Regions from separate parts of the Homo sapiens genome. Here all the other regions are linked to region 5. Evidence: promoter capture Hi-C in 16 types of primary human blood cells and fetal thymus (Javierre and others, 2016). All regions are on one chromosome and are shown on one strand. The core of a region is centred on a gene start or on the middle of the fragment in contact, and the rest is flanking DNA. Distances in the headings are between cores, read along the strand shown.

Region 1 (3,378 bases), core at 559-3,058, 390 kb before region 5:
TGCCTTACATTGTTTTCCCAGTGGGTGGGATCTCTTCAATTCTGGGCTTTTGACTGAGTAGTTTTTCCATTCCTTCCATGAAGACTTCCACATTTTATGACCACGCTCTTCCAGGGCTCTAACATTATGTAGAGGTTCCACATATGCACTATGGACTGAATAAGACTCAAAGAACAATGGACTATTTATTGATTTTCCATGTATTTTTTTGAACCTCTATTTTTTTTTTTTTTTTTGCTGACCTATGGTTGCTAACAAAGCACTCCAAAACTTGGTGTACTAAAATAATAATCAATTTTTCAAGACCTTATGGGTTAAATGGGAGATTCTTCTTCTCATGGTGTTGGGTGGGGCACTTAGATACCAGTTGTTCAAACAAGGGCCTTGTTTCTCTCTTATGTGAGTCCCTCCACAGAGCTGTTTGGGCTTCCTCACAGGATGTCTGCTAGATTCCTGAAAGAAACTCTGTAAGTGGCCAAGGCAGAGGCAGAGGTTACAGGTCTTTTAAGGCCCATCCTCAGGAGTTGCACAGTGTCATTTCTGTAGTATTCTAGTGATCAAAACAAGTCATGGAGCCACCCCAGATTCAAGGGGAAGCAAAATAGACTCCATCCTTTGATGACGAGTTGAAAAAAATGTGCAGCCAGCTTTAGTCTACCAAAATCTACTGTGTGCCAGGCACAGTGCTAGGTGCCTGGGGATATGAATGGTGAACAGAATCATACATAATCTTTGCTCCCATGAGCTTATAGTTTAGTGGGGGGAAGAAGAAATCAATTATCCACACCACTAAAAGTGTAAGTAGAAGGACTACAAAGGGATATGCTCAATGCCAGAAGAGCATAAAACAGGGGAACAAAGTCATAATCAAGAATGTCGAGGAGAGTTACCTGATAAAGGAGCACTAGGGCTGACATCTGAAGAATCAGTAAAGTTATTTAAGTTGTATGTATGCCTAGCACATGGTAGATCCTTGACTAATATTTGCTAAATGAATAAATGATGGCATGAGAAAAACTCTGTGACAAGAAAGACAAGGGACTGGGGAACAAAGAAAATGGAGGGTTGTAGTGTGGGATAAGGCCAGTGAAGGGTAGATGGTATAGATCTTTGAAACCACATTGAGTATCTGAGTCTTCAGCCTCAGAGCAATGGGTTTGAAGCCAGAGCAGGTTGGTTTAATAAGTTTTGGGCTCTGAAAAAGTCACCTTGACTACAATGTGGAGAATCAAATGGTTCGGAGGGCTAGGTAGTAGCTGGGAGGAGCAGAGAACGAAAGGAGGAGGGAGATTGGCTAGGACACTCTGCAGTAGACCACACAGGTGGTGGCGATGAATATGGAGATGGAGAAAACTCTGAGGAGATCTATCAAGACTGGGAAAGAAATGGCCCTGTGCTGTGGCCAGTTCCACGCCTGTCAGCCCCTCCGGCCCTGGGAGCCTGTGGAAATCTATAAGTAGTCTACACCAACCTGCGGGCATCTGAGCTCTGAAAGGGAATCTGTAGCACTCTCAAGGAAAGGCAAAGAAAGTGAGGCCAACACAACTCGCTTTTTGCCCTCAGAGCTGCAGTTCAGACTAGGTGCCAGGCGCCTTCTCCCACCTCAGGCTCTGAAGAGGAATATTGATTTCTGCAGCTGAGAATATAATGTTGGTGCTTGCTCTCAGGCCTCTCATTTTGCACTGCTTGTACCCTGGGGGAGGAGAGAGACCATGACTCCTCTGGAGATCAATGGCTGTGAACGGGATCGAGGAGAGGAGACCACGGTTTCTTTATCAGCCTATGCCGTCCCAAGGTGGCCACACAAACAAGGGCCATGCATCTAGGATTCTCCATCAGTGGCACTGTGAGAGTTTTGCTTTTACCCTTTCTATTGGAGAAAATATCAAACTTATCTATAAGTAAACTAGTGAAAGTTACCATTTTACCATCAGCTCCAACAATTATCAGCTCACGGCCAGTCTTACGTCATCTGTTTCCCCAACCTCTCTCCCCCTGCATTACTATGAAGCAAATCCTAGACAGCATATAACTTCGTAGGTAAATATCTTAGTTTTATTTTTTAAAAGATAGGCGCTCTTGAAAAAAAAAAAGCACAGTCATGGCATTATCACACTTAAAAATATTAATAATTACAAATGGATTTGTAATTATGATGCATCATACATTATATGATTATTTGATATCATCAAAAAAATAATATAATAGATGTTTGTTCACTTTTCCCTACTTGTCTTATAAAAAGATGTTGTTATTTGTTTTTGTTTGTTCATTTGAGTCAGGGTCCACACAAGGCCCGTACGTTGTAATTGATTACTGCATCTCTTAGGTCCCTTGTAATCTACAGGTTCTGTCTCATTTCTCTCTTTAAATAATTTTCCTCACCAGTATTTTGGAAAAGAAACTGGGTGGGTTGTCCTGCAGAGTTTCCCACATCTTGATCTTGCTGATGACATCTTTGTGGTGATATTTAACAGATTCCTGGTCCCCTGTGTTTTCTGTCAATCAGTAGTTGGATGTTGAATTTTGATTAAATTCACTATCAATTTCTTTTGGCAAGGCTACTTCATCGGTGGTGCTCTCTTTATCTAGCAGAAGGCACACTGTATTTGATTGTCCCTCTCTGAAATGTGAGCAGTCACTGGTCATTGCTTAGGTGCATTAATTCATTAGGAATTGCAAAATGGTGATAGACTAATTCTATATTCTGCCTTTTTTTGTTAATTAGGTAGAATGCTTCTCTACAGAGAAACTTTCTCTCATGATTATGCTGAGGCATAATTCTCATAGAAAAACATGATTAATATTCAATTCTTTACCCTTTACCTTCTTTTTTTTTTTTCACCAGTTCTCTAAATAATGTGCTGGTTCTGCAGCAACTTCTAAGGGTGACTATGGATGTTTTTAAATATCATGGATTTAAACATACTAGATATCATTTGTAAGTTATTAATTCTCAAATTATCTCATTTTTGGCCAGTAGGAGTCTCTTCATATTGGCTCCTGAGTTCATTTGACAGAATCCTAGTAATTTTTTATAGTTTCCTTGCTTTTTGATATGACAGATTCTCCAGGCTCATTTTGCACATTACCTGCCCCAGACATGAAATGAGTCACTTTGCCAAGGATCCTGGACTTCTTTTAGCAAGAAGTGGTATTTATAGATAGCAAACTAGGCACAAGGAGTGCTCAGTGCTTCTGGATTGCTGTTGCTAGGCCTTTCCTGTACTGATATGCATCATACAAGTAGTTTTTATTGAAATTCAGAATTCCAGGATTTTAGCTACCATCATCTATCATATATATATATATATATATATATATATATACATGTTTCCTTTCTCCCATGTTGAAATTCCTGGTTTTCAATGACACCCA
Region 2 (3,404 bases), core at 530-3,029, 440 kb before region 5:
CTCCTCCTCCTTCCATAAGACTTATGGAACACATGGTTCTCAACTTACAGTGGTCCAACTTAAAACTTTTCAACTTTATGATGCCATGAAAGCGATACACATTCAGTAGAAACCATGCTTCAAGTACCCATATAATCATTCTGTTTTTCACTTTCAGTACAATATTTAATAAATGACATGAGATATTCAGCACTTTATTATAAAATAGGCTTTTTGTTAGATAATTTTGCCCAGGTTTAGGCTACTGTAAGTGTTCTGAGCATGTTTAAGATAGACTGACTGAGCTATGATGTTAGGTAGGTCAGGTGTATTAAATGCATTTTTGACTTATGATATTTTCAACTTATGATGGGTTTATTGAGACATAACCCCATTCTAAGTCAAGGAGCATCTCTAGCAATTCTCTTAATGGCATCCCACAAATTCTGTAGGCTCTCTTTTCTCTTTCTCATTCTTTTTTCTTTTGTGACAGGATAATTTCAAATGACCTGTCTTTGAGTTCATAGATTCTTTATTTTCTGCTTGATTGAGTCTACTGTTGAAGGCCTCTATTGCATTTTTCACTTCATTCATTGTATTGTTCAGTTCCAGAATTGTTTTTTTAATCATTTCTTTTTGTTGAGTTCATTGTTTTGTTCATGTGTTGTTTTTCTGATAATGTTGAGTTATCTATCTCAACAAAGAGAAGGGTTATTCTCTTCTAGCTCACTGAGCTTCCTTTAAACAATTATATCAAATTCTTTTTCAGGGAATTCATAGATCTCCATTCCTTTGGGAGTGGTTACTGAAAAATTGTTCCTTTGTTGGTGTCATGGTCCTTTGTTAGTGTCACAATTATTTTCTGTGTTCCCTGAAGTGTTACCTTGCTGTCTTTGCATTTGAAGAAGCAATTACCTCCTCTAGTCTTTACTGACCAGCTTTGAGAGAGAAACACCTTCACCAGTCAGTCTGACTAGGGATTCTGAGACTCTCTCCTAACTTTTATATGAATATTCCCCCTCCACACCTCTTGTTCTGTCTTGGGGGGTGAATTATTAAGATTCTCTGCCTTCTCTTGGTCCTGCAGAGCCAAGCCAGGTGCTGAGATCCTCTCATTTGTTTTCCCAAGATGGTGCCCTGAAATACTCAACTTTGTGTACTTTTTTCCTATCTTGCCAAGTCAGGCTGTCTGTCTGCATGTACTTGTAAACCTCCTGCTGAGATGCACACTTTCAGTCCATGAGGCCACAAGTGGGAAGCTGGCATGGGGGTAGGGGAGATATGTGAGGCATGCATAACATTGCAGAGGCCTGTGGGCCAGCTGGGGAGTCTGCATGTGTGTTGTCCCAAGTAGTTTTGGACAAGCTTCCTGATGAAGTTCATGAAGCAGTTAATAAAAACTGCATCCCTTTTCTGAATACTGAGTATTGGTTGCTATGAGTCTCTTCTCTTCTCTACTCGCAATCTCTCCTAACTGCTGAGCTCTACCAACCACCATGGTACTTTGAGTGGCAAAAGAAAGGTGCAGCCCTCTTGGGCAGCATTCCACATGACTGGGGAAGCCAGGTACTCACTTCCTATGTTCTCAGTTTCTCTCATGGGAGAAATCACAGGCTGAGAGATTCTCTCTTTGTACTGAGCTGTACTGTCCTAGGAGAGGAGTGACATGGGTATAGTGAAATTTTTTTTCTTACCCTCTTTAGTGTGCTTTTCTCAGATTTTTTTTCCCCAAAAGTGTGTTGGAACTTCTTTGCTGGATTCTCAGACTCCCACAAAGGTAGTATGATCCATTAGTCGTTGTCAAAAGTGATGCTCTGTGGGGAGATAATCGTAGAAAACTCCTATTTCACCATTTTGCTGATGTTACTTATACTGAGCTTCTTGAGAGTTAAAAATATGGTAACAAGAATAGAAGTTTCAATAAAAGATCTGTGTGATAAAGTAGAGGAAATATTGAAAGTAGGTAGAAAAGAGGAGAGAAAAGCTAGAAGACAAAGAGAAAACAGAGGAGATGTATGTAGGAGGTCTTTCATTTACTTAATAAAAATTCTAAAAAAGGGAATAAAAAACCAAAATGAAAAAATAATACCTAAGAAATAATAAACATATTCAACAACAGATGGACGTGAGTTTCTAGCTGGAAAGCATCAACCAAACTGTTCAAAACAATGACATTTAAAGGGCCCTCACAAAGCACAATATTGTTAAATTCCAGAATGCCAGAAATAGAGGTTTTAAAGCTTTCAGAGAGAAGAAATAGGTCATATACAGAAAAGAGAAATCAGAATGGCATGAGACTTTTAAACAGCTACCTTGGAAGTTAGAAGTCAATGAAGTGCCCTTCTATTACTAAGGGAAAATGACTTTCATTCTAGAATTGCTTTTCCAGATAAACTGTGAATCAAGTGTTAGGATTAAAAGATGCTTTCCAACATGTAAGGTTTTAAAAATGTTACATCTCATGGTAACTCTTCTCAGTTTGTGTTCAACCATATTGAGAGAATAAAACAACAAATAGAAAATCATGGGATACTGGAAGTGGGGGATCCAATACAGGAGAGAGCTGAAGGGAATTCCCAGGCTGATGGTGAAAGATGGCCCACAATGACAGCTGTTTGGCAGGTCTAGAAACCCATTACAGGTTGAAGGGAAAAGGTGGAAGTCTCCACGGTGGATGTTCCTAAGAAGAGTGGAACTGAGAGACTACTAATGGATTCAGGTATATTGAGAGAAATTCTTAGGGCTCCATGGGAGAGTTGGGGGGATAAATTAGTGACAGGCACACAGAAAACTAAGCAAAAAATAATGTTAATCCCAATGACAGCAAAAACAAAGACAATTCCAGAAAAAAACCACAAAGTTGTACAAGAAAGAAAATAAAGTCATAGTATAGTCACTTCAGTGAGTAATACATAGTTACAGTATTGGGAATGGTGATGTTGAAAATTTAGTTACAATGTTAGTAATGCTAGTATTGGACATTTAAGTATTTTTAAAAATACTTAACAAAAGCATGATATAAATGTGTTAGGAGAACAGAGAGAGAGGAAGGGTATGTAGGAAGGGGATCTGTGTGGGAATGTTAAGACCAGAGTAGAAAGTCAATCAATGAGGTATGAAATGCAAAAATCAGAACGTACTGGTTTACAAACATTATTTTTATATATGGAAGGAAATAACCAAGAGAAATATCCCAAAGCTGAAAGTGATTGGCCCTAGAGAGAAGATAAGGGTTACAAAGAGAAATAATGAGAAATCTTGTTTTTCCAGTATAAACCTTGTAGAACTATCTGATTTTTAAAAAGATGTTTTATACAAATTACTCTGATAAATTTAAACTTAAGTTTAACAAAGGGAAATAAAAGCATCTTCTAATCTCACTGTCTGCATATTAATTGTAAATAGTCTAGTGAATATTCTTTTGG
Region 3 (3,115 bases), core at 429-2,928, 420 kb before region 5:
GTAACAAGGCAATCACTTGAAATATAAAACATTACACCATTGTAAGCCATTATGATTCCACTGAAAAATTAGCACATTAGTCTAGGGTAGCATTTCCCAAAGTGTGTTTTTGGAACATCAGTTCTATGGGATGTCAACCGGTATTACGCTAAAGCTATCAAACAAACAAACAAACAAAAAAGTGTTTTCTGGCCAAATAAATTTAGAAAACTCAAGGCTAAGCAAGCTTACATAGTTATTTTACCACATAAATTATTAGTCTTAATAATTTAATGTGCACTGTGAATCATTAAAATGAGGAAATTATATGCAGTAATTCAGACACTTCTTTGGACACAAGACTCTTATTTTCTCAACATATTAGTCCTTCAGAACACAGTCTTTTGGAAATTATTAAACCATCTACTCTTCAAGTTCTCTTCTGACTTGAATGCCCTCTGATTCATTCATCTGTTTAACAAATATTTATAGAGTCCCTATTATATGCCAGGCACTGTTCAGTGTAAAAAAAATACATCAGTGTACAACACAGAGAAACAAATCCTTGCTTTCATGGAGCTTACATTCTAGCAGGATTTGATGTCACTCACTCAAAGTGTACTCATACTTTGAGAAGTGACTGCTATCCCTTAACTCAAAGATACAAAGTTGTAAAGTAGGATCATTAAAAACAAAGAAAGGCCAGTGGGGAAGGATAGTTTGTGGGGAAAGGAGGGAAGACTGTGTGTCACTCTGCCTCCCTATCCCTCAGCCTCTGAGTTGAGGTTAAACTATGAACTCAGATCTGAAGAAGCAGATGGCTTCTACATCAGGGGCGCACAATCCCATTTGTTTATTTGTTTATTTACTCATTAATGTCACTATTCAGCACATACTTATAGGCATGACATATGTCATACACAACAATGCATAAGACCAAATTTGTACCCCCAGAGCTGACTCCCAGGTGGGCAGGCAGATCAGGACATGAGAGATTGTGCCTGTGTGTTTTATGTGCTATGGGGGAGAGGACAGAGTAATGTGGGGGCACATTGCAGGGGCACTGAACCCTAGACATCAGAGAAGACATCTTAAAGTGACATTTAATTTGAATTATCCAGAGAGCAATAGGAGTTTGTTTAGCAAACTGGCTTAGGGTGAATTGGGGAAACAGTGAGTAGGAAAAGCGCTCTAGTCAGCGGACACAATATGTAACTAACAAAACTCCCATGACAAGTTTACACAGTGGAACTGGCATGGAAGACATATGTATATATTAGAGTTCTGTGTATGATTTTCTTTGAAAAAGGGTTCTGTTATTGAAATAAAACTTGAAAACCATTAGTGGTTTCCCAAAGGAAATTTTTGAGGCTACTCTATGTTTATAATTCTTAAATTCTACTGCTTATGTAAGTCTTTCTGTCAAAAGTATTTGCATTTTCATGGGGAGTTTAGGAAGACTGAGATTTCTTTCAAATCTGAGGTACACATTGCTGCTGGCAGATAGTATTCATTGAAATGATTTTTGTTATAAATGACAGAAACCTCAATTCAAGATGACTTTAGCAAAATAGGAAATTAATTATCTTACATGACAAAACAATTCAAATGGAGAGAGACTTCAAATCCAGTCTCTCTCCATTTCAGTTGTCTGGCCTTCATTCTCAGTCTTAGCATTGCAGCAAGAGGGCTGCCAATGTCTCCATGTCTGCATCTTTCATGTCCAAGTCTAGTGGAAAAGAGGGTTGTCTTCCTGAAGCTGCGACATAAATCCCTGTATTCACTCTGATTGTACCATCTTATCTCATGTGCTCATCCCCAAACCAATCACTGTAGCCAAGAGGGTGAAACTACAAAGATTGGATAGGCCTGGATCACATAATCCAATCCTGGAGCAGGAAGTGTAGTCCCATCCAAACCACATGACTGAGAATGATTTCCTAAAAAGTCCTGAGGCTATAAGCAGAAGAATAGGGAGGGAGGCAGAAGGGGAAGGAGAGAGAGATGGAGATAGGGAGAGAGAGAGAAAGAGAGTCAAGGATGAAGGGAAAAAAGAGAAAGAAGCATCACGGAAAACAGTGATGGATTAAAAAAGGGAGAAAGCAAAAAAGAAAAGAAAAAGAATGAAACTGGAAGTAATACAGTCTAGTGAGTTCTTCCTTAAAGCATCACCTTGAGGGTAATGTTTACTTTCTCCAGTGATACTGCTTTGGCTCAAAAGGATTTTCAAACTCCTCTTGAAATTTTTTTCAGAGCCTGAAGCACGTTCTTTGAATATGCTCATTGGTGGCGAATCCTCATTCTTTGGGGGTGGTTTTGATTTTTGAAAGAAGCCAAAAGTCACTGAGAGCTGAGTGTTGACCAACATGGTGGCTGCTGCATCTGCCTCATCTTTCTTGTGTCCAAAGTAAAGTGCAATGATGTGTTCATAAGTCTGAGATCCTTGTAGGTTCCTTTTAATTAATTCATTCATTTATTGTTTTATTTTAATTTCATTAACTTAATAACCAACACTTTCACATGTTTCACATTTTCAAAGGCACAAAAGAATATATAGTAAAAAGTCCTTTCCCTTCCCTTGCCGCCCAGCCACCTGGTTTACCTTCCATGTTTTGCGTGTATCCTTCCAGAAAGAGCCTACTCCTATCCCTTAATTGACTTGAAGAAGGCCCAGAGAGGTATCTCTAAGTAACTGAAGAACTGCTTGAATGCTGGCTGAAGAGCACTGCAGTGTGTGTAAGCTGTGATAGGTTTATGCCAAATGCAGGTGTCAATACTTTATCCTTAGGACCCTGAGAAGTCTCTGTAATATGAGGCAGTTTCCTGGCTCAGATACCTGAGCTGTGCGAGATCAGGTGGGTAACTTTTTCTCTTGAGCTTTGGTTTTCTCATCTGTAAAATGGCGATAATGTCAACAACCTCCTTCGCAGGGTATTATGCGGTTTAAGTGCAATGATGTACGAAAATGTCCTAAGGAGGTTTATTGTATGTGTCGACTTAGCTCAACCACAGTACCCAGTGGTTTAGTCAAATACTAGTCTAGATGTCTCTGTGAAGGTATTTTGTAGATGTGATTAACATCTGCAATCATTTAACTTTAAGTAAAGCAGATTACCCTCCGTATTGTAGGTGAACC
Region 4 (3,062 bases), core at 3-2,502, 350 kb before region 5:
TTAGGTAATATTGAATGGGCAATGAATATTTCATTTCCACCTTGCCTCCTGGTGCCAATCACTGTAAATGAGGCTAGATTAATATCCGAAATGACTCACACTCCGTTAGGTATCCAAGTCTGGGCCCCTCAGACTCGCTCTATTTTGGCCTTAATTTGTCAGCTGGATTTTGTTAGTGACTATGCAAGACAGAAGCAGGAACACATAGTTTACCTCAACTTTATGCTGGACATGAACTTCAGTGTTTCAAAGTGATCTTTGGTTCTGATAATATGGCAGAGCAAACTTGTACAAAGGATGAATAAAAAATAGAAATAGAATTTTTAAAAATATTCCGGCATAAAAGAAAAAAAAAATCCCCAGGTACAAGAATTGAAGAGAGAAATCAAAGCCAGGGCAGTAATGGAGAGTTGGTATTTCAGCAAAATTTTCTGACCCAGATATAAGCCCTAAGAGCTGAAGGTTGGGGATTTAACACCCACTGGGGTACAGGAAATGTGGCCTCAAGCCCTTGCTAGGTAGGGAAAATAGAACTAAGCTTCAGCATAAAGCCATGAGCCTTGAAAAGTTGCATTGTCCGTGGGATGGTGACTACAAAAACTCCACATCTGAGTCCAGGAAAGAAGCAAGTAAGCTTGCCACCCATCTAGAACCCCAGTTAAAAAAAAAAAAAAAAAAAGAAAAAGAAGCTGTGTCCAAAAAATCAAAACCCCAGGTCTGGGCCACATATGGGCATGGTATCTAAATGTATACCAGTGATAAGTTAGCATAGATTGCCTAAGTCTATGAAACCCCTAGGATATAATAGGGGAAATTGTGAAACTGAATTGTTGGGACATTTTTACAAATCAGGGCATGAAGTACTCACACCCAGAAATTTACCATCATAAGGAAGATACTAAATGCTTCAAAAGGATAATTAGCACCTTAAAGATTCGAAATAATAGAAATATCTTTATGAGACTATAAAATAAGAGCATTTAAAATTATTAAAGATAGAAGAAGTAGTATGATACAAGAAGCAGAAAATTCAAAAGAAATATATAAATAGGACTCATGCATAAGTTGGTTTGCCCAGCACGGAGGGATTTCTCAGGAGACAAGATTCTCAATACTAAGGGAGACTCTCATTAGGCAAAGCATGTGGTGGTCATGTTACTTCCACTGGGTAACCAAAGAGGTTTTAATGAAGAGACCGTTTACAAACGTGTGGACAGAATTTGGGGAAACCAGCAAGGAACAATACAGCGCCCTGGACCTAACCACAGGGAGCCACTACTACCAACTCTGGGAGGGAAACGGCCGACAGAAGTCAGGACTAACTTGCAGCTCCCACTCAGGCAGGCAGAGCAGCGTGTGGAGACCCACATCGTAAACTTTTGCTCCATTACTATCCTCAAGTCTGAAGGGGCAAGGAGAGGGTGCCATTACTGAAACTCCGAGAAATAAGCCCCACGGAGAAGCCCTTAATGGAAGGAAATAGGAAAGAAGCAAGGAGAATAAGCACACCATTTTCACTCTCCACCTACCTTCCCTCTGAACTCCTGTTGAGACCTCCCATTGGCCAGACTCAGCTAAAAGCCAGAGAGCAAAGAAGTTCTTTGACCTAGTCTACACAGGCCAGCCTCCTGAAACACAGATCAAGAAGGGTGCAGAATGGATCTTGAAGGGTAAACGAAAAACAGTCGGGACAAAAGCACAATGAAATTGACCATCTGAATACCTGTATATAAAACCTTGCAAGTTAAAGCAGGTTGTGCAAAACCAGAGTTAGGAGGAAAATAGCAGGCTAAAAGTTAGAAGAGCTGAGCCCTGGTGACACCTTTGGTATTTACAATCAGTGTGACTTTGAGAAAGTGTCTTTGTTTACTCAAGCTTCTATATTATTAATTAAGAATGAGGCTGGGCATGGTGGCTCATGCCTGTAATCCTAGCACTTTGGGAGGTCGAAGTGGGTGGATCACTTGAGCGCAGGAGTTTGAGACCAGCCTGGGCAACATGCCAAGACCCTGTCTCTACCAAAAGAATACAAAAATTAACCAGGCCTGGTGGCACACACCTGTAGTCACAGCTACTCGGGAGGCTGAAATAGGAGAATCGCATGCACCTGGGGAGGTCAAGGTTGCAGTGAGCCATGATTGTGCCACTGTACTCCAGCCTGGGTGACAGAGTGAGATGCTGTCTTAAAAAAAAAAAAAATTAACAGTGAAATTTTTCTAGAATAGAAGTCTCACACTGGAAGCCCTTGGATCAAATCTTAGTGGAGTATATTGTTTACAGAATGTTTTAGACTAAATCTGAATAATTCAATAACATTGAAAAATTGAGGAAAATTCATAAAATAATGTGGATTTCTAGCTTTCTTTGTGTTTTCGTTTGGCAACAATTGTCTAAAGGCAAGGTCCTCACTCCCATTTCTACACCGACCATCCCTTCTGGCCCACTTCACTCATTTCTGTTACCTGCCTGCAGCCCTGTGGGAACTGGTATTTGCAACCTTGAATAGCACTTTCAACTTTCAGGTTTAACAGTCTGTGAAATTTAAGGCATCACTGTAGGTTTTGACTATGAACATGGGCTTTCTGAGTTTTTTAATCGAGGTGGATTGGGAAGTTGGCAGGTGGCTTTTTGCATATCTTCCTTTACATCTTAAACACAGCACATATGCAGTTTTATGAAGCATATGGTCTTCCATGTGCATAACTACACTTTGTTGATTTTTCCTTTTCCTAAGTTCTCCAAAAGCCCAGTAGAATAAACACAAGCTGCCACTTGGAAAACAATTCTGAAGAAAAGCCCATCTGGGGAGAAAAAGTGAGGCAATCCAAAAAGCCGCCAAGTGACCACATTTCTGGAGTAAGTTTTTACAGTTCACAGAGACCATGACTCTTTTCTCCCCTTGGCATGATATATGATGAGCATGGTGTCAAACAGCTCGTGGTGACATTGCCTTTGCTCTTTGGGCTTGTGGCAGGGAATGGGTGAAAAAGGCAAATTCAACCTTTCTGTGGCAGACCTTGATTGGAAACAACGTGTGAACATTTTACCTGGTGATGAGCCCT
Region 5 (3,234 bases), core at 488-2,987:
TTAGATGTAAGTCATCCTGAGTGACTTCTGTTTTCCCCACCCGTGAATATCAAGTTATAACAAGTATCAAGAGCAGAAGGTGAGAAACCCAAGATGCAGGCTTGTGAACTGGAGTAAAAGAAGGTATCAGGCTTTACTTTTCAATCTCCAGCTGCCACTGCCCATTGCTCTGCCATATATTTGCTAGCCTATGACCTCAGGAATCAACTGACTCTCTCTGAACCACTGTTTCTCATCTCTCAATGAACAATGGTTATGCTTCTCTCAAAGAATTGTAAAGTCTCAAAGAAACTGAGTAAATGCATGGCTATCAGTAAGCGCTCAATTCATGGGAGTCCCTGCCCAGCACCAGTGGCTCAGGCCCCAAAATTAACTACTCAAAAGGCAGCTCCATCTATAACAGTGGTTCCATCCCCTACCTTGCCCCGGGGGAAAAGTATGACACAGTAGCTGAGTACCCAACTTTGGGAGAGACCCCACAGTTGAGTTCAGTTCCCAGCAGCTCTCCTCCATGCCTTTGTGAACTTGGGCGAACAGCTAAACTTCCCCATAATTTGGTGTCTCATCCATGAAATAGAAATGGTGAAGAGTGTATTCTTTCTCTCATGAGAGTCATGAGAAAATGCAAAAAGAACTCAGCACACTGTCTAGGACAAAATAAATGTTGGATAAATGTGAACTAACATAAAGTTCTTTGGCTTTTTCTTTCTTTCTTTCTTGGCCCATACTTTCTCTTCTAAGTACCATTCACCCACCTTTGGGAGTGCGTCCCTGTGACTGAATGTCCAACATGGATATCAGACAGAAAGGAAAAAACTCAACAAATAACCAAGATCCTCTACGTCCCTTCCCCAGGTCTCTGACCTCCCTCACCCCCACTCCCAGATAGCCAGCTAGCTTCCTCCCTCAATTCCCTTCATGTTTCCTCAAATATCACTTCAGTGACATCCCAAGCACCCACTTAACATTTCAAATCCACCCCACAAACACCCCACTGCATTTCCCCCTCCTTACTTTATTTTCAGCCTAACACCTGTCATCACATTACACACCTCATCATTTGCTTATTTAGTATACTGTCTGTCTTCTGTCGGGAGAAGCTACGCTCCTATAGGGCAGGAGTCCGTCTATTTTGTTCAGTTGCTATGTTCACAGCGCCCAGAGCCAGGGCAGAGAGTGGAGACTCCGTAAGAATCGGCTGAATAAATGAGTGAATGCCTGAGCGAATGAAAGGATGAAGAGAAGCCAGATTTTACTGGGGCCAAAGAGTTTGCACGGGGCGAGGGGAGCCAGATGAAGGATGAGGGCTGGCCTCAGATCCGACTCAAGTCCCTCCCACCTGCCCAATCCTAGAATTCTCTTTCCCTCTTTTAGGTGCTGGACAAGTTGCATATCCCGTTAAATCCGGGGCCCACTCCGGGAGCCCCCTATTAAAGGTAAGCAGCCCCCAACCCACCTTTGACACGGAAGAGTGACTAGCGGGGAAAATAACCCCAGCGGGCCGCCTAGGGGTGGGTGACCCGCGATCTCCACGCCCAGGTCCCGCCCTCGCGGCCCCTGCCCCCGCCCCGCCCCCCGCAGAGGGCGCGCCCTGGGAGCGGCGGGGGACGCGGCTGGCTTCCCGGCTTGCGGGGTGGCGGCGTCGGGGCTGCGGGCGCCTTGGCTGGACCCGCATTGCCCCCTAGTGCCGCGCGGAGTCAGGGCGCCGGGCTCCCCCGCCTGATGTCACCGCCGTGCAGTCAGCCCAGAAGCGGCTCATTGAAAGCAGACCCTCTTCGGCGCTCGCTGGGCGGAGGACGCGCCGCGGTCCGCAGACCCGAGCGAGCTGGGCACCGCCGGGCGCCCCCGGCCCTGCCGCCCCCTCCTCCCCGCCGCTCCCCCGCGAGCCCGGCCAGGCGCGCCTGACGTGGACCATTAAACTTGGAGCTGCCGCCTCGTCCCCTCTCCTCCTCCTCCTCCCTCTGACAGGCGAGCGAGCGACTCGGTGCAGGCAGGAGACGTGCTGCCGGGCTGGGCTGCCCGGGGGAGATGACTCCTCGCCAGGAGGGCGCCTCTGGGAAGAAGACCACGGGGGAAGCAAAGTTTCAGGGCAGCTGAGGAGCCTTCGCCGCAGCCCTTCCGAGCCCAATCATCCCCCTGGCTATGGAGGGCGGACTCTAAGATGAATCCCGACCTGGACACCGGCCACAACACATCAGCACCTGCCCACTGGGGAGAGTTGAAAAATGCCAACTTCACTGGCCCCAACCAGACCTCGAGCAACTCCACACTGCCCCAGCTGGACATCACCAGGGCCATCTCTGTGGGCCTGGTGCTGGGCGCCTTCATCCTCTTTGCCATCGTGGGCAACATCCTAGTCATCTTGTCTGTGGCCTGCAACCGGCACCTGCGGACGCCCACCAACTACTTCATTGTCAACCTGGCCATGGCCGACCTGCTGTTGAGCTTCACCGTCCTGCCCTTCTCAGCGGCCCTAGAGGTGCTCGGCTACTGGGTGCTGGGGCGGATCTTCTGTGACATCTGGGCAGCCGTGGATGTCCTGTGCTGCACAGCGTCCATTCTGAGCCTGTGCGCCATCTCCATCGATCGCTACATCGGGGTGCGCTACTCTCTGCAGTATCCCACGCTGGTCACCCGGAGGAAGGCCATCTTGGCGCTGCTCAGTGTCTGGGTCTTGTCCACCGTCATCTCCATCGGGCCTCTCCTTGGGTGGAAGGAGCCGGCACCCAACGATGACAAGGAGTGCGGGGTCACCGAAGAACCCTTCTATGCCCTCTTCTCCTCTCTGGGCTCCTTCTACATCCCTCTGGCGGTCATTCTAGTCATGTACTGCCGTGTCTATATAGTGGCCAAGAGAACCACCAAGAACCTAGAGGCAGGAGTCATGAAGGAGATGTCCAACTCCAAGGAGCTGACCCTGAGGATCCATTCCAAGAACTTTCACGAGGACACCCTTAGCAGTACCAAGGCCAAGGGCCACAACCCCAGGAGTTCCATAGCTGTCAAACTTTTTAAGTTCTCCAGGGAAAAGAAAGCAGCTAAGACGTTGGGCATTGTGGTCGGTATGTTCATCTTGTGCTGGCTACCCTTCTTCATCGCTCTACCGCTTGGTAAGTTGGGGACTAGCAGCAGGGGGACTGGGCATTTTTGGACCTTGGGTTTACTGATGAGCTTACTCTAAAGTTTTTTGTGGGTTTTGTTTCTTATGCAGTCTGTGCGTGTTCGGAGATTGAA
Region 6 (3,058 bases), core at 233-2,732, 370 kb before region 5:
ATCGGATTTTTTAACATTTGCTAATCTTGTGGGTACAAAATTGTGGTTTTAATTTTTCACAAGTCTTGTCTGTTTAGGCCAGAGGTCATAAGCCAGCTGTGCCTGGCTGGATGAGGTCTTCTGTCTGGATGTCATCCACTGAAGTAGATTTGAGGGGCATTTGAAGAGAGGTGCTTCTGGAAGTTATAGGAATAGATGGAGTTGTCAATTCAGAGAATGTAGCCAGAAGAAGGCAGGCTCAGGGCCACATGTGGTTGGATGAGGAAGAGGAGTTGGTGTAAATGGAAGAGATGTTACATAATTAGATGTTGCCTAATGTAAAAATAAGTAGTTACAATAATTATTAGTTGGCTCATATGTTTATTGTGTGCCTCCCCTGGCTAGACCATCAGGTCCATAAGAGAAGTGATCAAGTCTGTTTTGCTGCATTAATAAGTGCATTAATCAGGCTTGCTAACCTAATAAACTACCCAATCATCTCAGAGGCTTTCAGCAACAAGCATTTATTTTTTCATCCCTGTAACACTCATGCTCCCCTGCAGGTCGGCTGTGGTTCTGTTCTGGGCAGCATTCTGTTCCATGTGTCTTCTCATTCTAGGTCTGGTGGAGAGAACAGCCTTTGTCTGGGACATGCAGTTCTCAGGGAAGAGGGGGAGAAGCAAAACATCTACAGAAACTGGCAATGCCTCTTAAAGCTTCTGCCTACATGTGGCTCATATCGTGCCTGTTCTAATTGTATTGACCAAAGCTTGACACGTGGCCAAGCCCAAAGTAATCCCCAGAAAGCACAAGTTACACAGCAATGGGTGAATGTGGGTGGTGAATAATTGCAAGCAATAACTCACCTCTTCATTCAAAGTAATGCCAGTGCCTAGCACAATCACTTGCACTTAGATCATAAAAGCAGATTATGCAGTATTTTCAACCTTTTTTCATGGAAAATTTTGCAGACACCTGTCTCAGTTGTGGATCCTGCAAGATAATTCATCTGCCCATAGTTCCAGGATGCTTTCATTCTGCATGCATCTCCTGAACCCCACCCCTCTTTGCTTGCTAGTTTCATTTAGAGCTCTTAAATGGGACCTATTTGGTATGAGGTTATGCTCCTTGCTGAGCTCTTGGCAAATCAAAAAGCTGCAAAGATGACAGCAACTATAAAAACCAAGTGTCTGTGTGGTAAGGAACAAGCCATTCTCCACATCTTTTGCTGGGAGCAAGGTCAGGCCACATTCTTCCAGGGCATGGAGATGGCATTGCCAAACTGACTGTGGATATTAAGGGGTTTCAGATGAGGAGAAAAGGGAGTGAGGTCACCTCTGAAAATGCTGGTGTGGTGTAATTTGGAAACATTCATGCAAACCATGTTTGTTAGCTTTTTTATTTTTAATCCAAACTAATGAAAAACTGAAGGGAAACGAGATGTTCCATGAGATTTAGCCAAACACTAAATAGGTCTTGTGGACTCTGACTGCAAAATTAGTTATAGAGGGCTTTTGGCAAAAACCATTATTGAAATTAAAATACTGCTTGCCTGTCCCTAAAAAGTGTTGATGCCAATTGTGAAGCCTCTGGTGGGCTATTGCAGGAGCCCCTGTTGCTGTCCCATTCATAATTACCTAAGAGATGAAAATTTTAAAAAGTTTAACTGTAGCATATGAGCTATGCTTAGTTGGGGTTTCTGGCCAAGGCACCAAGGATCAAACAGCAAGGACAGAAAACTTTTAAGTTAGATTCTGAAATATTTGTGTGTCTATGTGGTATATGTATATGTGTGAGTACATATACACACACATACACCCATATATAGATATATGGAAATGGCATAGAGAGGAAACAATTTGTGAATTGGAAACCACAAGAAAAGCCATCATTGAATGGTTATAATACTTTCTTGCATGGAGCTGAGTAGCTCGCATGAATTTGTCTAGCTTTAATATCTGAAGATATTTTGGGTAATGAACTCTGATCCTCTGAATGTCTGGACTTAACCTCTGGTCCTTCAGCGTAGGCAGAAGGGGAATATTTGAGCTTAATATTCTCTTCCTTCTAACTGATTGGTAGTTTAGTAGAATGTCATGTTAATACAGTGAAAGCCTGTGGGTTAAATCCAGTTCATTTTATTTTGACATTTAGATTTCATACATCATTCTGGCTTGCTTGTCAACCATCTTGAAAATTGGGTGGAAGGATGAACTCAGACTTTTCCCTCATTGCAAACAAGCTTTCCAGTGTGAATGCACCATGCTGCAGCCACAATGAGCTCCTCTCCATCCCTCTGAGCAGGTTAAGCTGTTTGCATGCTCAGAGTCCTTGCAGGGCTGTTCCCTCTACCTCATATGTTCTTTTCTCCTTTCCTGGCTAACTTCACAGACCTCAATTTAATTGTCCCTTCTACAGAGAGGACTTTTGTAACCCTTTATAGTCCTCCCTATTCCGTCTAAGCTATGTTCCTCCTCCATTGTGTTCTCATAGCATCCTGTTCTTTTCACCATTTATACATCTCTATTTGTTTATTTGATTGTTTAACATTGTCTCTTCTACCACACTGTAAGGACAGGGGCAATATCTGGTTTGTCACAGCATCCTCAGCATCTATCAGAATATCTGGCATATGGATGGTCTGTAAATAGTTGCTGAATGAATAAAGGTTACACTAACAATGGGTTAGTAATATCTAGGATTGCTTCACATTAGAGATGAGAAGATCTTAGAGGCCTTAGAAGAAAGATCTTACTTAGAAGTGTATACCCAACCCTTCAAGACACCAGATCCATGTTAATTGATAGCACTTTAGTTATTTTTATTCTGTTCTATGATTATGCCAAAGCTTATTTAATCTTTTAATTGGCATTTGATTTGTTTTCAGTTTCTTGCCATAATAAACAATGCAGCTATGAACATTCTTGTATGTTCTTTATATGTTATATGTTTCTTCGTGCACATTTGCAACAATTTCCCTAGAGAATATGCCAAAAATAGAATTGCTAGGTAATGAGATATGCATTTCCTTATCTTTACAAGATAATGCCAATTTGCATTCCAGAGCAGCTGTTCCAAT
Region 7 (3,084 bases), core at 225-2,724, 500 kb before region 5:
GCAGAAGAATATATATAGCATGCTGTATTTTGTGCTAATGAAGGGGAAAATAAGCCTATGTATTAATTTTTTTTTGCATATGCATAAAGAAACTGAAAGTTTACATGCAAAACCTAATAGCAGTTTTGCATGTGGGATGTGGAAAGAGGGGCGGTATGAGGTATGGGAGAAGATTTTTAAATATATTTCTTAATTTTTTTTGAGATAGCCCATGTGGATGGACTATGTTACCTATTCCAAAAATTAAATTAAAAAGTTAAAGTGGTTTTATGCTGTACAAGTGATTCTGTAACCTTTTCCAATCAGGTTTATTTTATTTATTTATTTATTTTGAGACAGATTCTCGCTCTGTCGCCCAGGCTGCAGTGCAGTGGTGCCATCTCGGCTCACTGCAAGCTCCGCCCCCCAGGTTCACGCCATTCTCTTGCCTCAGCCTTCCGAGTAGCTGGGACTACAGGCGCCCGCCTCCACGCCCGCTAATTTTCTGTATTTTTAGTAGAGAAGGGGTTTCACCGTGTTAGCCAGGATGGTCTCGATCTCCTGACCTCGTGATCCGCCCGCCTCAGCCTCCCAAAGGTTTATCTTTCTGAATTTTTATCCGTGTGGTTGTGCCCTTGATTTTTCCATTAATTATGCTGCCTTGAACTGTAGAATTTTACAGCTGGAAAAGCTCTTGGAGAACACCTAGTTTCCAGCTTTTATATTACAGGAAAGAAAAATGAAGGTGCAGCAGTGGCAAGTAATTACTGAGAGTAGCTCAGCAAGTCAATGGCAGAATTGGGGGTTTGGCCTCAGACCTGACTCTGATTCAGAGGCTGGGACTGCCTTTCTTCACCCCATCCTCAACCAATGCCAAAGCCATCTGCCGAGTCTTAAGAAGAGATTGGTAACTTTACATGTTATCCTTTCCTAGGCACATTTGCATTCAAAAACAAAACAAAGATAACAACAGACAACAAAACCCAGTGGTCACTGTTGCAACTGATTGTTCAGACCTCAGAAGTCAGGGAGATGCTTTGGGATGAGAGATATGGGGTGGGATGGTAATAGTGGTTGGGCCGGTAGTCAAGGACACGGTAAACTTTCTAATATCTCCATTCTCCTACAAAATACATAAATCAGTTAAAGGAAAAGAAAAAGGCAAATAAAACAAAAAACAAAAAACAAAACAGCGAGGTTATCACTAGTTCATTCATATAAAGATTGTTTCTGTTTTCAGCTCAGGAAGAACTAATTTGAATTTTATATTAGTGATGACATTGCTATGAATATTATTAATTTAACTAGATCTTATTAGACTTTTTGTTGCCATAGTGACAATACAGGCACTAATAAGCCACAGAGTATGAGACCTCTGCAGGCAGAGTCATCTGGTGTATCTCTCCGCCTACATGCGGAACTCCTCTAAGCCGTTCTGACGGGTAAAGACCTTTTAGGATTTATGTTAATAAATAATGCCAGCCCTTCTGGAGTTCTTATAGTCAAGCACCGTGCCAGAAGTGGCAAGAATACAAAGACTCAGAAGAAATGTACTTCTGAGATGGCCAAATTCCTAGGCAGATAAAAAGGGGTCCCCGGAGAATCTCCGACTGGCCTGCTCACTGGGAGAACGGGGTGGAACCAGGGGGAGTTCACACTCTTTGCAGGAGGGAGGAGTCTGGCCTCTTCAGTTTCTGTGTGGTGGCCTGGTGTTCAGGCTGTGAGATGGGAGCCCACTGGCAGAATTCCTTCTTGCTTTGCTGAGAGTTTCTTTTTCCTTTTTTCCTTTTTGCCCAACAAATTCCTCTCTAAGCACCCTTCAGTATGTCCGCGCGCCTCATTCTTCCTGGTTGTGTGACAAGAACCCGGTTTTAGTTGAACTAAGGAGCAAAATTCTGCAACACTTCCACCACAAATTAAATAGCATACATGGGTGTTTTCTAAAATTTTATACAAAAATATTTCACTTATGTATTATTATTATTATTATTATTATTTTTGAGACAGAAGTCTCACTCTTGTCCCCCAGGCTGGAGTGCAGTGACGTGATCTCGGCTCCCTGCAACCTCCGCGATACTCCTGCCTCAGCCTCCCGAGTAGCTGGGATTACAGGCGCACACCACCACCCCCCGATAATTTTTGTATTTTTAGTAGAGAGGGGGTTTCACCATGTTGGCCAGGCTGTTCTCAAACTCCTGACCTCAGGTGATCCGCCACCGTGCCCGGCTATACAAAAATATTTTTAACAGTAAAGGAACAGAAACAATGTGTAGAGGCCTCCCTATGCTTGAAATTTTGGTCACATTTGGAATTTTAACTCATAATTTCATTCAAAATGTTGGATTCTACTCCATAATATAAATGTGTTTGCTTTAATGTCTATTAAATGTCTACATGTATAGTCTGTTAACTATTTTTTCTTCCTAGTCTTCTAGTAAAATTGATGCTCCAAGAAGATACACAACGTTGACCATGTGGATTCAGATATCTCCCGCTTGGATCTCAGCCTGGATCTTGTTGTTTGAGAAGCATAGATTAGCTACAGGTTGGTAAACTTTTTTGTAAGGGCCAGATAGTAAATATTTAAACAGTATAATGAGCCACACTGTTCCCGGACAGAACGAGGTCCTGCTGTCTGTTCTCGCGGTCCAATAAGGAGATGCAGACAGACTGGGAAAGAAGGGAGTTTATTTCTGCAACTGGTTACAGGGAGAAGGTTGGAGTAACTCACCAGACCAACTAAAATTAGAGGTTTTTCTCTAGTGCTTATGTTGCTGGAAGGAGGTCCCAATCCAGACCCCAAGAGAGGGTTCTTGGATTTCATAGAAGAAAGAATTTGAGGCGAATCCATAGGGTAAAGTGAAAGTAAGTTTATTAAGAAAGTAAAGGAATAAAGAATGGCTACTCCATAAGTAGAACAGCCCCAAGGGTGGCTTGTTGCCCATTTTTATAGTTATTTCTTGATGACATGCTAAACAAGGGATGGATTACTCATGCCTCCCCATTTTAGACCATGTAGGGTAAAGTCCTGACATTGCCATGATGTTTGTAAACTGTCATGATGCTGGTGGGAGTGTAGCAGTGAGGACGACCAGAGGTCACTCA

The links. The method cuts DNA at HindIII sites, captures the fragments that hold promoters and counts their contacts. A CHiCAGO score of 5 or more calls a contact.
Region 1: a contact is called between a fragment that was not itself captured here and the fragment with the promoter of ADRA1B in region 5, in 6 of 17 cell types (M2 macrophages, endothelial precursors, M0 macrophages and 3 more). The highest score is 17.3, in M2 macrophages.
Region 2: a contact is called between a fragment that was not itself captured here and the fragment with the promoter of ADRA1B in region 5, in 6 of 17 cell types (M0 macrophages, M1 macrophages, megakaryocytes and 3 more). The highest score is 7.3, in M0 macrophages.
Region 3: a fragment that was not itself captured here is called in contact with the fragment with the promoter of ADRA1B in region 5 in 8 of 17 cell types (megakaryocytes, M2 macrophages, M1 macrophages and 5 more); the score reaches 12.5 in megakaryocytes.
Region 4: a contact is called between a fragment that was not itself captured here and the fragment with the promoter of ADRA1B in region 5, in 3 of 17 cell types (megakaryocytes, M0 macrophages and endothelial precursors). The highest score is 6.5, in megakaryocytes.
Region 6: a fragment that was not itself captured here is called in contact with the fragment with the promoter of ADRA1B in region 5 in 7 of 17 cell types (M1 macrophages, endothelial precursors, M2 macrophages and 4 more); the score reaches 11.2 in M1 macrophages.
Region 7: a fragment that was not itself captured here is called in contact with the fragment with the promoter of ADRA1B in region 5 in 1 of 17 cell types (M2 macrophages); the score reaches 5.1 in M2 macrophages.

What each region holds. Positions count from the first base shown.
Region 1 is chr5:159,528,772-159,532,149 of GRCh38, forward strand. The region is part of intron 2 of LOC105377684 (a long non-coding RNA gene); the gene reads left to right. Among named protein-coding and RNA genes, the nearest start is that of LINC01845, 64 kb to the left of the region's middle. The HindIII fragment of the contact is 5,826 bases long and covers 1-3,378 here.
Region 2 is chr5:159,474,679-159,478,082 of GRCh38, forward strand. No RefSeq gene overlaps it. Among named protein-coding and RNA genes, the nearest start is that of LINC01845, 10 kb to the left of the region's middle. The HindIII fragment of the contact is 875 bases long and covers 1,343-2,217 here.
Region 3 is chr5:159,493,459-159,496,573 of GRCh38, forward strand. No RefSeq gene overlaps it. Among named protein-coding and RNA genes, the nearest start is that of LINC01845, 29 kb to the left of the region's middle. The HindIII fragment of the contact is 2,908 bases long and covers 225-3,115 here.
Region 4 is chr5:159,564,338-159,567,399 of GRCh38, forward strand. LOC105377684 (a long non-coding RNA gene) reads left to right here. Exons shown (of 20, transcript XR_941139.3): 5 at 2,735-2,856; 6 at 3,015-3,062. Among named protein-coding and RNA genes, the nearest start is that of LINC01845, 100 kb to the left of the region's middle. The HindIII fragment of the contact is 1,241 bases long and covers 633-1,873 here.
Region 5 is chr5:159,914,745-159,917,978 of GRCh38, forward strand. It overlaps ADRA1B (adrenoceptor alpha 1B), which reads left to right and starts at 1,738. Exons shown (of 2, transcript NM_000679.4): 1 at 1,738-3,110. The coding sequence starts at 2,162. RefSeq lists a silencer at 1,572-1,631 and enhancers at 1,695-2,311, 2,312-2,928. The HindIII fragment of the contact is 3,740 bases long and covers 1-3,234 here.
Region 6 is chr5:159,548,011-159,551,068 of GRCh38, forward strand. All of the region lies in intron 2 of LOC105377684 (a long non-coding RNA gene), which reads left to right. Among named protein-coding and RNA genes, the nearest start is that of LINC01845, 83 kb to the left of the region's middle. The HindIII fragment of the contact is 1,473 bases long and covers 747-2,219 here.
Region 7 is chr5:159,414,118-159,417,201 of GRCh38, forward strand. No RefSeq gene overlaps it. Among named protein-coding and RNA genes, the nearest start is that of LINC01845, 51 kb to the right of the region's middle. The HindIII fragment of the contact is 5,285 bases long and covers 1-3,084 here.